Linked DNA regions of Homo sapiens: regions 2 and 3 are each linked to region 1. The links are contacts of gene promoters, found by promoter capture Hi-C in human tissues and cell types (Jung and others, 2019). All regions are on one chromosome and are shown on one strand. Each heading gives the region's core, a stretch centred on a gene start or on the middle of the fragment in contact. The rest is flanking DNA. Distances are from core to core; before and after follow the strand shown.

Region 1 (3,206 bases), core at 243-2,742:
AAAAATTGTGATCTCAAAATTATGAAAATATTAAGTTTTTTGCTTAAAGATCGAAGTCTCGTTTTTAATAACAAAACTAAAATGTCTAGCATAGATCAGGCATAAACTGATCCTCTTTTCAACACAACTTCACCACAAAAAGTGCACTTGAATCAACCTAGGGAGATTCCCAGCATGCAGTAAGTCATAAAGGAGAATAAACAGTCTGGGAAAGTCATTTTGGACCGAAAAGTGTTCCCACAAATAAACCCACCTCATTCTAGTATAGTCAAAGGGACCTCTATTTAAAGTTAATGCCACGCAAGGGGCCGTGGACGGTGTTGTCTTACACTTTATTCCCTGACACAAACTAATCCTGGGATTTTAAACCTTCCTAGCTTTTAGGTGCACTGAAGGCGGTCATGAACACAAGTAACAAGCTTTCAAAACATCATCTGTGAATACGACGTGTTGGGAAGCAGGCAGGATAAGCCACTGGGTGACCGACTAAGGCTGCAAAATGCTGTTTGAATTTAAGTCCCTGACTTGTAGGAGTTAAGTCTCACTCCTTATACCGCGATGACGTAATCTTCCACACTACATTTATCTTGGACTTAAAGGGGAGGAAAAACAAACGAACAAAGAAAATTCCCCCCCGATAAGAGGAATTAACCAAGCAGCAGAACGACGGCTTCGGGAGGTAGTTAGGTAACTCCCCGAAAGGGAAGCTTCAGCTAAACCGGCAGGGAGCGGGCTGGAGGAGCGGATGGAAATGCTAGGAACTCGACCTCCGAAAGGAAGAGCAGCCTGGAGGCCGTGGCTCGGGGCCACCCCGCCCAGAGGACGCGGCCGGCGCGGAGGGGAGCTCGGACAGGCACCGCCGCGAGCAGCCAGCGAGCTGCCCTCCTGCCACCGCCCCGCCGCGGCCGCAACGCCACTCCCCTCCCCCGCCCCCCCACCCCCGCCGCAAAATGTCCGCGGCGGCGCCCGGCGAAGCAGGAAGTCCAGGCCGGAGCGCAGGGCACGGAACGCAGCCTGCCAGCACGGAAGACCGGCGCCCGGCCCGGCCCAAGCGCCCGCGAGTCGCTCTGAGGCCCCCGGCCGCCCTTAGGAGCCCGCCGGGCCGGGCTGGGGGGAGGGGAGCCCGGGCGCCCAGGATGGGTGTGACCCCCTTCCTTCCGCCGCTGCCGGTGACAGCCCGGTCCCGCTCGCGCCCCGAGCCCCGGCCGCGCGCCCCTCCTCAGACGGGCGCCCCCTGCCTCCCCGGCCGCGACCCCCGCCCCGGCTCCCCCACAGAACGCGGACCCGCGCCCGCCCGGAGGACGCAGCGCGAGCCGGGCACTCCCCCACAACCCGTGCTCCCGGGCCCCCCACGATCCCGCAGACGGGGTGTCCCCGAGGACTGGGAGAGGACGGAGACGGCGGGGATGGGAAGGTAGGGTGGCAGCTCCCGCGGGGAACCTCGGGCCCCGCACTCACCTCAGCTTCTCCACCGGGGCGTTGGCAGCACTGCGCGGGGTCTCCTCGGCTGCCGGACAGGGGCACGCACCTGACGTCAGCGCGCAGGAGACGCACAGTTGGGTGCCCGCGGAAGTGGGAGGAACAGGGAAGGGGAAGAGGCTGGGGCGGGTCAAGGCGGTGCCTGGACTGCCCTGGCTCCGCCCGCCTGTCGCGCACGCGCGGGCCGGCGCAGCTCGTGAGTTCGGGGCTATGCTCTGCATGTTTTCCTAATGGTTGTATTTGTAATAATACTGTGAACGATAGTATGCAAAGCGCTTCCTCTACCAGTTCTTTTTTGTTTGTTTTTTCTGAGACAGTCTTGATCTGTTGCCCAGACTGGAGTGCAGCGCGCGATCTCAGCTCACTGCAACCTCCACCCCTTGGGTTCAAGCGATCCTCCTGCCTCTGCCTCCCGAGTAGCTGGGATCACTGGCACCTGCCACCACGCCAGGCTAATGTTTGTATTTTTAGCAGACACGGGGTTTCACCATTTTGCCCAGGCTGGTCTCGAACCCGTGACCTCAAGTAAGTGATCCACCTGCCTCGACCTCCCAAAGTGCTGGGATTACGGGCGTGAACCACCGCGCCCGGCCCACTACCAGTTCTTTTGATCCTTGCAAGCTTGTGAAGCAAGGTATTGTCCCATTTTGCAGAGAAGACGGAAGCTTCTCTGAAAGGGCTGGTGACTTGCCCCAGATCACAGGGGTGGATGGTCTCTCACTCCCCGGGCCTGTATTCAGTCCGCCGTGATGTGAGAACTGAGTATCACTCTTCTTATCTCTACCTACACCCAGTGTCCCTCGCTGTAGCCACATGGGTCTTTTTTAGAGTTACAACCTTCCCCCAACCACAGGCCTTGTGTTTTTGTTGTTGTTGTTGTTGTTGTTGTTGTTGTTTTTTCTTTGAGACGTTCTTGCTCTGTCACCCAGGCAGGAGTGCAGTGGCACGATCTCAGCTCACTGCAATCTCGACGTCCCGGCGATTCTCCCACCTCAGCCTCCCAAGTAGCTGGGACCACAGGCGCATGCCACCATGCCTGGCTAATTTTTGTATTTTTTTGTAGACACAGGGTTTTGCTGGATTGCCCAGGCTGGTCTCGAACTCCTGGACACAAGCTATCAGCCTGCCTCAGCCTCCCAAACTGCTGGGATTACAAGGTGTGAGACATTACGTCTGGCCAAGGCCTTGAATTTCTTTGCTCTGCCTCCCTCCTCTTCCCCCAAATTTATATCACTGCATTCTTCAATCATCCTATCTTCGCAGTATCTATTATTTGTCTTCTCTGCTAGTATGAAAGCTTCAGGAAAATAGAGAACTTCCCTCTCTTATTCTTAGATGTTTCCCCATGTTAGAGAAAAATCGCTTAAATTGCTTATCCTAGGCCGGGCACGGTGGCTCATGCCTGTAATCGCAGCACTTTGGGAGGCCAAGGCGGGCGGATCACGAGGTCAGGAGATCGAGACCATCCTGGCTAACACGGTGAAACCCCGCCTCTACTAAAAATACAAAAAAATTAGCCGGGCGTGGTGGCGAGCTCCTGTAGTCATAGCTACTCGAGAGGCTGAGGCAGGAGAATGGCGTGAACCCGGGAGGCGGAGCTTGCAGTGAGCCAAGATCGCGCCACTGCACTCCAGCCTGGGCAACAGAGCGAGACTCTGTCTCAAAAAAAATAAAAAAAAATTGCTTATCTTAATAACAGCTCATTTATTGTCTACTGCCACAGCTAT
Region 2 (3,206 bases), core at 307-2,806, 440 kb before region 1:
CTAGCTACAGGTTACTGCATGTCAGTCATAGCTCAACAAGGCTGTCTGAAACAAAGTATGAGAGAGAGACAGAGAGAGAGAGAAGTAGAGGCCGAAGTACAAAGCAGCATCTCCCTAACTCTCTATTTAATCTTATATTCTTAAAGTATCTGTTCCCTTTTTCTTTCTGAAGTTCAAAGGTTATGGACTGTAACAGAATTGGCTTTAAAAACAGCCACCAAGTGATTTGCAGAGCTCCTACTCTGACCTCTAAAACTGAGGAAGAAATAACATAAGCCTATAATGATCACCAACAGCAAATCAGTGTTCTTTTGAAGTATATTAATGATATTGCCATCAAAAGATTAGAACAAGAAATGGAAAAAAAGAAATGTTGAACGAATGCATGTATAACAGACATTTCTTCATCACCTGTTACATGCCACATACTTTTAGGTACCAATGTTAAAAAAAATGCATAAGACACAGTTCAACTAAGTATAAAGGTGACACTAATAACTTGAGTATTGCTGATCTAAGGAATAACGTTACTCCTCTGTAGCCAAAGTTAAGTGGAGAGGAAGCTTTAAGAGAAAATGAAGAGGTGTGTTTAGAAGCTATCAAGGTAACAAACTAATGACAAAAATGATGGATTGAACAGTTAAGAGAACACGCAAGTGCAAAAATATAAAACCATAATGTCCTTCAGCATAATCAGTACAAAGAGTACCAAGGATTTATGACTTGAAACCTCCCAAAGAGAGTCATCAGGGTTAGCCTAGCCTTGTAAATAGCTTGTCTCCCAAGAAAACAATGTATAGTCGACTGTCAGTTAACACAGCTAAAATAAATACTAGACCTTGAATTTGTTTTTTAAAAAAGTTGCTATGAATCAGGAAAACATTTAATTATTAGAAGGCATGTATTACTTGGACTAATACAAAATTGCCTATAGCAACATGGGAGGATCGGCCCACACTACCCCCTACCAATCAGAGGAGCAAGCCTGCCGGGGCAGCGCCCTCTCACTCTGCCAGCAGCCTCTCAGAAAGGGGAAGCAGGGCTGGGAGAAAAGGGAAATAAATGGAATTCTAAATTGGTTGTGGAGTCGAATCCTGCAGGGTCAGGTGTGAAGAATCAAGTATTGAGAGATCACACAGGTGGAAATGCGTCTCAACTGAGTTACTTAAAAAAAGAGGTCAGCTAAGAAAGCATGATAGCCATTTGGCAGTTTCCTGTCAGGCGATTCCTAAGCACTTATATATATATGCATCACTTTTACCCTGTTGGGAGGCAGTATAAACTCAGTGTGTAAGGGAGCAGCTCTAAAGTTAGAATGCTGAGGTTTCAATTCTGGCTCAGGGTCATATGAGCTCTGTGACCTTCGCCAAATTACACCACCTCTTTGAGACAGTTTTCTCATGCATAAAACAGGACTTAACAATAATACTCACACTGATGATTTTTGTGAAAATTAAATGCGGTAACACATATGCCAAGCTTAATACAGGAAGTGTTCGTTGAATGTTTACTATTACTGTTTTTATGTCTGAAAATGGCCACTGTTATTCCTAAATATTAGATGCATTTTACCAATAATTTATAAGTTTATATAAAGTCCTTTTTGTTCATGTTTTGAGTATCTGTTGTTTTGTTTTAATTTTAATGGTTTAAGTCTCAGGTTTGAGGTTATACATGGCTACCTTCTTAATCTTATCTGTGATTAATCAGGAGTAAATGGTATGATCAGTTAAGTATTCTGGATCAAAACTGGTTAGAAGCTAGGATTCTCCTGGTGATCAAGATGTAATGTCATTTTGAAAGTATCCTGCCTAAGTACTTTTGCAAGACTGCCCTTTAGGGAATAAATGTCCAAAAAAAAAAAAAAATTAAAGTTTCAAAACATTGAAACCCTGGGCTATTTCTGCCCCATATAAAAAGTTAGTAAGGTATCCTGAGAACACTAAACTAGCAAACAAGTACAAAAGTCAGAGGTGCCTACCTCCTTCTGTGGACCTTTAATTTCTGAACACATTTCTAGTTTTTTTAAAACATCCTGGGTAACCATGAGTGCATCTGAGAAGACACCTTCATTTTCTAGAAGAAAATTCAGCTGGTAGTGTTTCCTTTCACATCCTAAATGTAGAACAAAATAAAACAAATCAGAAATTCATTACTTGAAATAAATTTTTACAAGTTTAAGCTGTCTGAGCACCTTCAGGTCATATACTGCACTTAACTGATCTCTGTCTAGCACATCAGTTATGAATAACAGACAACAGTATCTCTCACAGCTTCCTCCTTTGTGCTGTCCTCAGCCTGGTTAAAATAGCAGATAATCAGCAGGGCACGGTGGCTCACGCCTGTAATCCCAGCACTTTGGGAGGCTGAGGCGGGTGGATCATGAGGTCAGGAATTCGAGACCAGCCTGGCCAACATGGTGAAATCCCATCTCCACTAAAAATACAAAAAATTAGCTGGGCGTGGTGGCACATGCCTGTAATCCCAGCTACTCAGGAGGCTGAGGCAGGAGAATTGCTTGAACCCAGGAGGCGGAGGTTGCAGTGAGCTGAGATCATGCCATTGCACTTCAGCCTGGGCAACAGAACAAGACTCCGTCTCGAGAGAAAACAAAACAAAACAAAACGAAACAGATAATTATCGAAATGGTACGTCATTATTCCAATACTGCTTTTCTGCTCTGTAGTTCATGTTTGGACTTTCAATGTTCAAAAACACAGACACTTTTAAAAGAATGGCCCAGTACGGTACTGCACTGAATTTTGGTTTTCTACCTAACAGTGGTCTTTGATAAATTTATTAATCAAACATTAAAACTGATAAAGATCATTGAAAACAGAAGGATGGAATATAAAACAATGACTGTTACCTGGTTCTGTGCTTGTCTTCTTTGCCTCACTAAAGGTTTGCACAGCAGGGGAGGGGGAACAAGCTTCAGCTGTAGTAGGAGTCTCCGCTGGGGTTTCTGCATTCCTCTGGCTCTCCTGGGCTGTGGGAGAATTCACACTCATCTCTTGTGAAACTGAATGGGCTGCTTCCTCAGTCTCAGCTTTCACAGGGCCCCCTGGAGTGGCAGCAAGCTCTGGGGAAGAATGAGGCTCTCCAGCACCTTCAGATGAAAGGATTTCTACTTGAGGCTTCTCTGGTTCCTTTCTGAATGTCTCTGAGGATGGCGCAGAGACATCCCTTACCACCTGACCCTGAAC
Region 3 (3,206 bases), core at 371-2,870, 330 kb before region 1:
TCACCTGCTGTGAGGGCTAAGGAAGCCCAGATCAGTGATGTTGGAGGCGGGAGGCTGCCCAAGCCTCTTTTCTCCACACAGTGGAGTCATGAGGCCAAAAGTTGACCTCTCCAGCCACACCCTGGCTTGGGCTGAGGTCTCTAGCTCCTGGCCTGCCTCAGGCTCTTCTCCCATGGAGGGGCACCCCACCCCCCACTCCCAGATGACACACACTCTGACTCAGATAGCCTGTCCTCATCCTTCCGGCCGTGACCCAGGGGGCTGTGGTGGGGGTGGAGGAAGGGGAGGAACAGTCCAAGGAAAGGGTGATCCCATCTCTCTTGTCTCTGGGGCTCACCATGAAGTCAGCGGAGTCCCAGCTGCTGATGTCAGGAGCGAATAGGACTAACAACCCACATGTATTGAGTGCTTGCTCTGCACCAGCACCACACAAGTGCCTTACATCCATAGCCTCCTCGAGTCCTTATCATAACCCTTTGAAGCAGGGGTTGAAATGATGCCCATTTCACAGATGAAGAAACTGAGGCCCAGAAATTGAAGTCCCTTGCCCAAGGTCACAAGGCTGGTCACGGCTGAGACAGGACCTCAGAGCTGGCTGCATCTCTCTGTAACCTAGGCTGCTCCAGCAACTGAGCCAGCTCCCAAATGCTCTATTGTGCTCCCTCAAAACCCCCTACCCGCCTAATGCCACACGCAGGTGCAAGACCCCTACCACGGGATGCCCAGAAGAATGAGCCGCCTCCAGCCCCCAACCCAAAAGAGAAGAGGAGCAGATTCCCGGGGGCCCTCCGGCTAAGCAGGCACCAGCCTCCAACCGGAAATTAACTCAAAGGAAGAAGGGAGCCGACTCTGGATGCAGAGAGATGAGGCTGATTGTTTTCTGTTCTTCATTAAGTAACAAAGGGAAAAACCAACTGTGCATGGTGTGTGAGCTTCCCCACCGGCACCACCCCAGACTCCTGGAACATCTTTATCCACTTACCCAGGGATTCAGGAAATTCTCTTCCAAGCCAGTTTTATTGGAGATTTTGGAAGCAAAGCTCACAGTCTCCCAATCAATAACAGATGAACAATGCTCACATTGCATTTTTTGGGGAGGACGTTTAGCCCGGGCTTGTCCCATCTGAAGAGCCTGCCCTTGGACATCCCTATTTGATCAGACATTGCTGGGAAATGAACTTCAGGGCAATTCTAGAAACCAGAGTCATTGGCATGAGGGTGCAGCAGGAAGGGGCGTCCTGGTCTGGGCCAGGCCTGGGGAAGCCCCATGTCTTGCAAAGGTTAGGGTCTGACCCCCCAGGTTCTCCCTGGCCTCAACTCTCTCCCCCGCCTCCTCCCTGGCTTATCCTCCACATGTGCTCTGCATGGGTATCGAATCTGCAGCCCATAAAGAATCAATCAAATCCAGTCTGGGCTCAGCCAAGGGCTGCAGCGCCAAAGTGCTAATGGAGGAAGGCCGGGCAGCCAGAGGGGATGGCAGGCCTGGCGGTGCAGTGGCGATTTCAGCATCAGCCTTCTTCCCACCCACACTCCATCCCATAGATACACGGAGCTGCAGAAGATGGCCCAAGAATGGGAACTGGGACCAACTCGTGATTCTCCATCTCCGCCTTCTCCACAGCTGGAGGGGTTGGGAGGGGTTGTGGGAGGGGAGCAGGGACACCTCCAGGGGACATAACACTTTTGTTACCATCAGACCATCTACAGTGAGAACAAACTACTTAGAGTGGGAAGCAGAGTCCACAGCTCATATCCTTCCTCTCAGCAACACTTATTGAGCACCTACAGCATGCCAGGCAGGGGGAGGGTAAAGTCCAGGCAACTCCCGTTTGCTGGAGTTTACATTCTAGCAGGTTTATTCAGCATCTCTGTCAAGAGAAAAGAAAAACCAAGAAAAACTATATACATTTTGGGACCCATCAAGGCATGACGGTTTTTTCCTAGTGCCATTTTGGAGATTCCATCACTCCCATGGCCAGGTCATTCATGCCATTCCCAACCTGTCTGTCAAAAAATCTGCTAAATATGTTGGCCCTGCCTGAGTCATGCCCATCATCTGGAAGATATTTGTTGAGCACCAACTAGGTTCAGGGCCCTGGTGGACATATGTTCTGGAAGCAAGAGGCAGGCCAGAATTGGAGCACCCAGTGGTGAAAGGCATGCTGAGGGGCTGTAGGAAAGCTTCAGTCTGAAGAGAGGGAGCCCCTCCACAGCAGGGCGGAACCAGCCCAGGTCCACAAGGCACAAATTCTTGTGCAAGCCCAACTCTGCCAGTGAATCACTATGTGACTTTGGGCCAATCTGTGTTCTCCTCTGAACCTCAGTTTCCCCATCTATAAAATGCGATGATGCACATATGAGTGTTCTCCAGGTACGGTCTTGCTTCAGAATCATCTCAGGGTGTGGGAGTTGGTGAAAATGCAGGTTCCTGGGCCCCACAGCAGGCCTCTGGCAAGGGTCCTCAGGAGGTGGGTCTAGGAGTCTGCATTTGTAACACATTCCCCTTGGGGTTTCCGATGTCCCAAAGTTTGAGCAAGACTCCTGGAGGAGACAGTGTCCAAGTGCTTGGCAAACGGGTCAATTCTGCTACAAAAGAAGGCAGCTGATAGGGGTGCAGATGGTCAAGGGAAACTCCCTGGAGGGGGCAGAAATGAGCTGGGCCTGAAAGCCTAATAACAGGAACGATAATCGTGCTATTGCTTGTGAAATGGCTTTCAAGCACAAGCCCTGTGCTAAGTGCTTTATGTGCATTACTTCATTTAACCATCATGATAGCCCTGGAAGAGAAGACTTCTTATCCCCATTTCATAGACGAGGAAGCTTAGGCTCTCCAATGGTTAAGTGACTTGCCCAAGATATTTGGATGCCCTCTGAGACACACTGCCAAATCCTCCCTAACAAAATACCACAGGCTACTCAGGGACCTCCTGAAACCTGGAGCCATAGAGGAGGCCTTTCTGGAACAGAAGGCTTTGGTACCTGAGGCCTAGAGGACAAGAGTGGCTTGTTTCCTAGCATACATATTTCACTCACTCACTCCCTGAATCAGTCATTCACTCACTCGCTGTTTTCTTTCTCCTTTATTAACTCATGTACTTATTCACTTATTAATTCATTTGTTTAATCACCCAGTCTGTTTGCAGCAGTCTGTATTTCTGGACTGTATTCATCAGGATTCTTTTATTATAAGTGGCAGAAACACAACT

What was found. The method cuts DNA at HindIII sites, captures the fragments that hold promoters and counts their contacts. A contact is called where the count stands out against the background at its distance.
Region 2: a fragment that was not itself captured here is called in contact with the fragment with the promoter of CDC42 in region 1 in 2 of the 25 tissues and cell types used here (heart left ventricle and hippocampus).
Region 3: a contact is called between a fragment that was not itself captured here and the fragment with the promoter of CDC42 in region 1, in 2 of the 25 tissues and cell types used here (IMR-90 fibroblasts and bladder).

Annotation. Positions count from the first base shown.
Region 1 is chr1:22,050,995-22,054,200 of GRCh38, reverse strand. It overlaps CDC42 (cell division cycle 42), which reads right to left and starts at 1,492. Exons shown (of 6, transcript NM_001791.4): 1 at 1,459-1,492. RefSeq lists enhancers at 1-503, 504-1,071 and silencers at 784-963, 974-1,193, 1,254-1,403. The HindIII fragment of the contact is 8,517 bases long and covers 1-2,460 here.
Region 2 is chr1:22,490,309-22,493,514 of GRCh38, reverse strand. It overlaps ZBTB40 (zinc finger and BTB domain containing 40), which reads right to left. Exons shown (of 18, transcript NM_014870.4): 2 at 2,870-3,206; 3 at 1,982-2,115. Among named protein-coding and RNA genes, the nearest start is that of ZBTB40, 40 kb to the right of the region's middle. The HindIII fragment of the contact is 3,271 bases long and covers 1-3,191 here.
Region 3 is chr1:22,377,515-22,380,720 of GRCh38, reverse strand. No RefSeq gene overlaps it. Among named protein-coding and RNA genes, the nearest start is that of ZBTB40, 73 kb to the left of the region's middle. The HindIII fragment of the contact is 5,446 bases long and covers 1-3,206 here.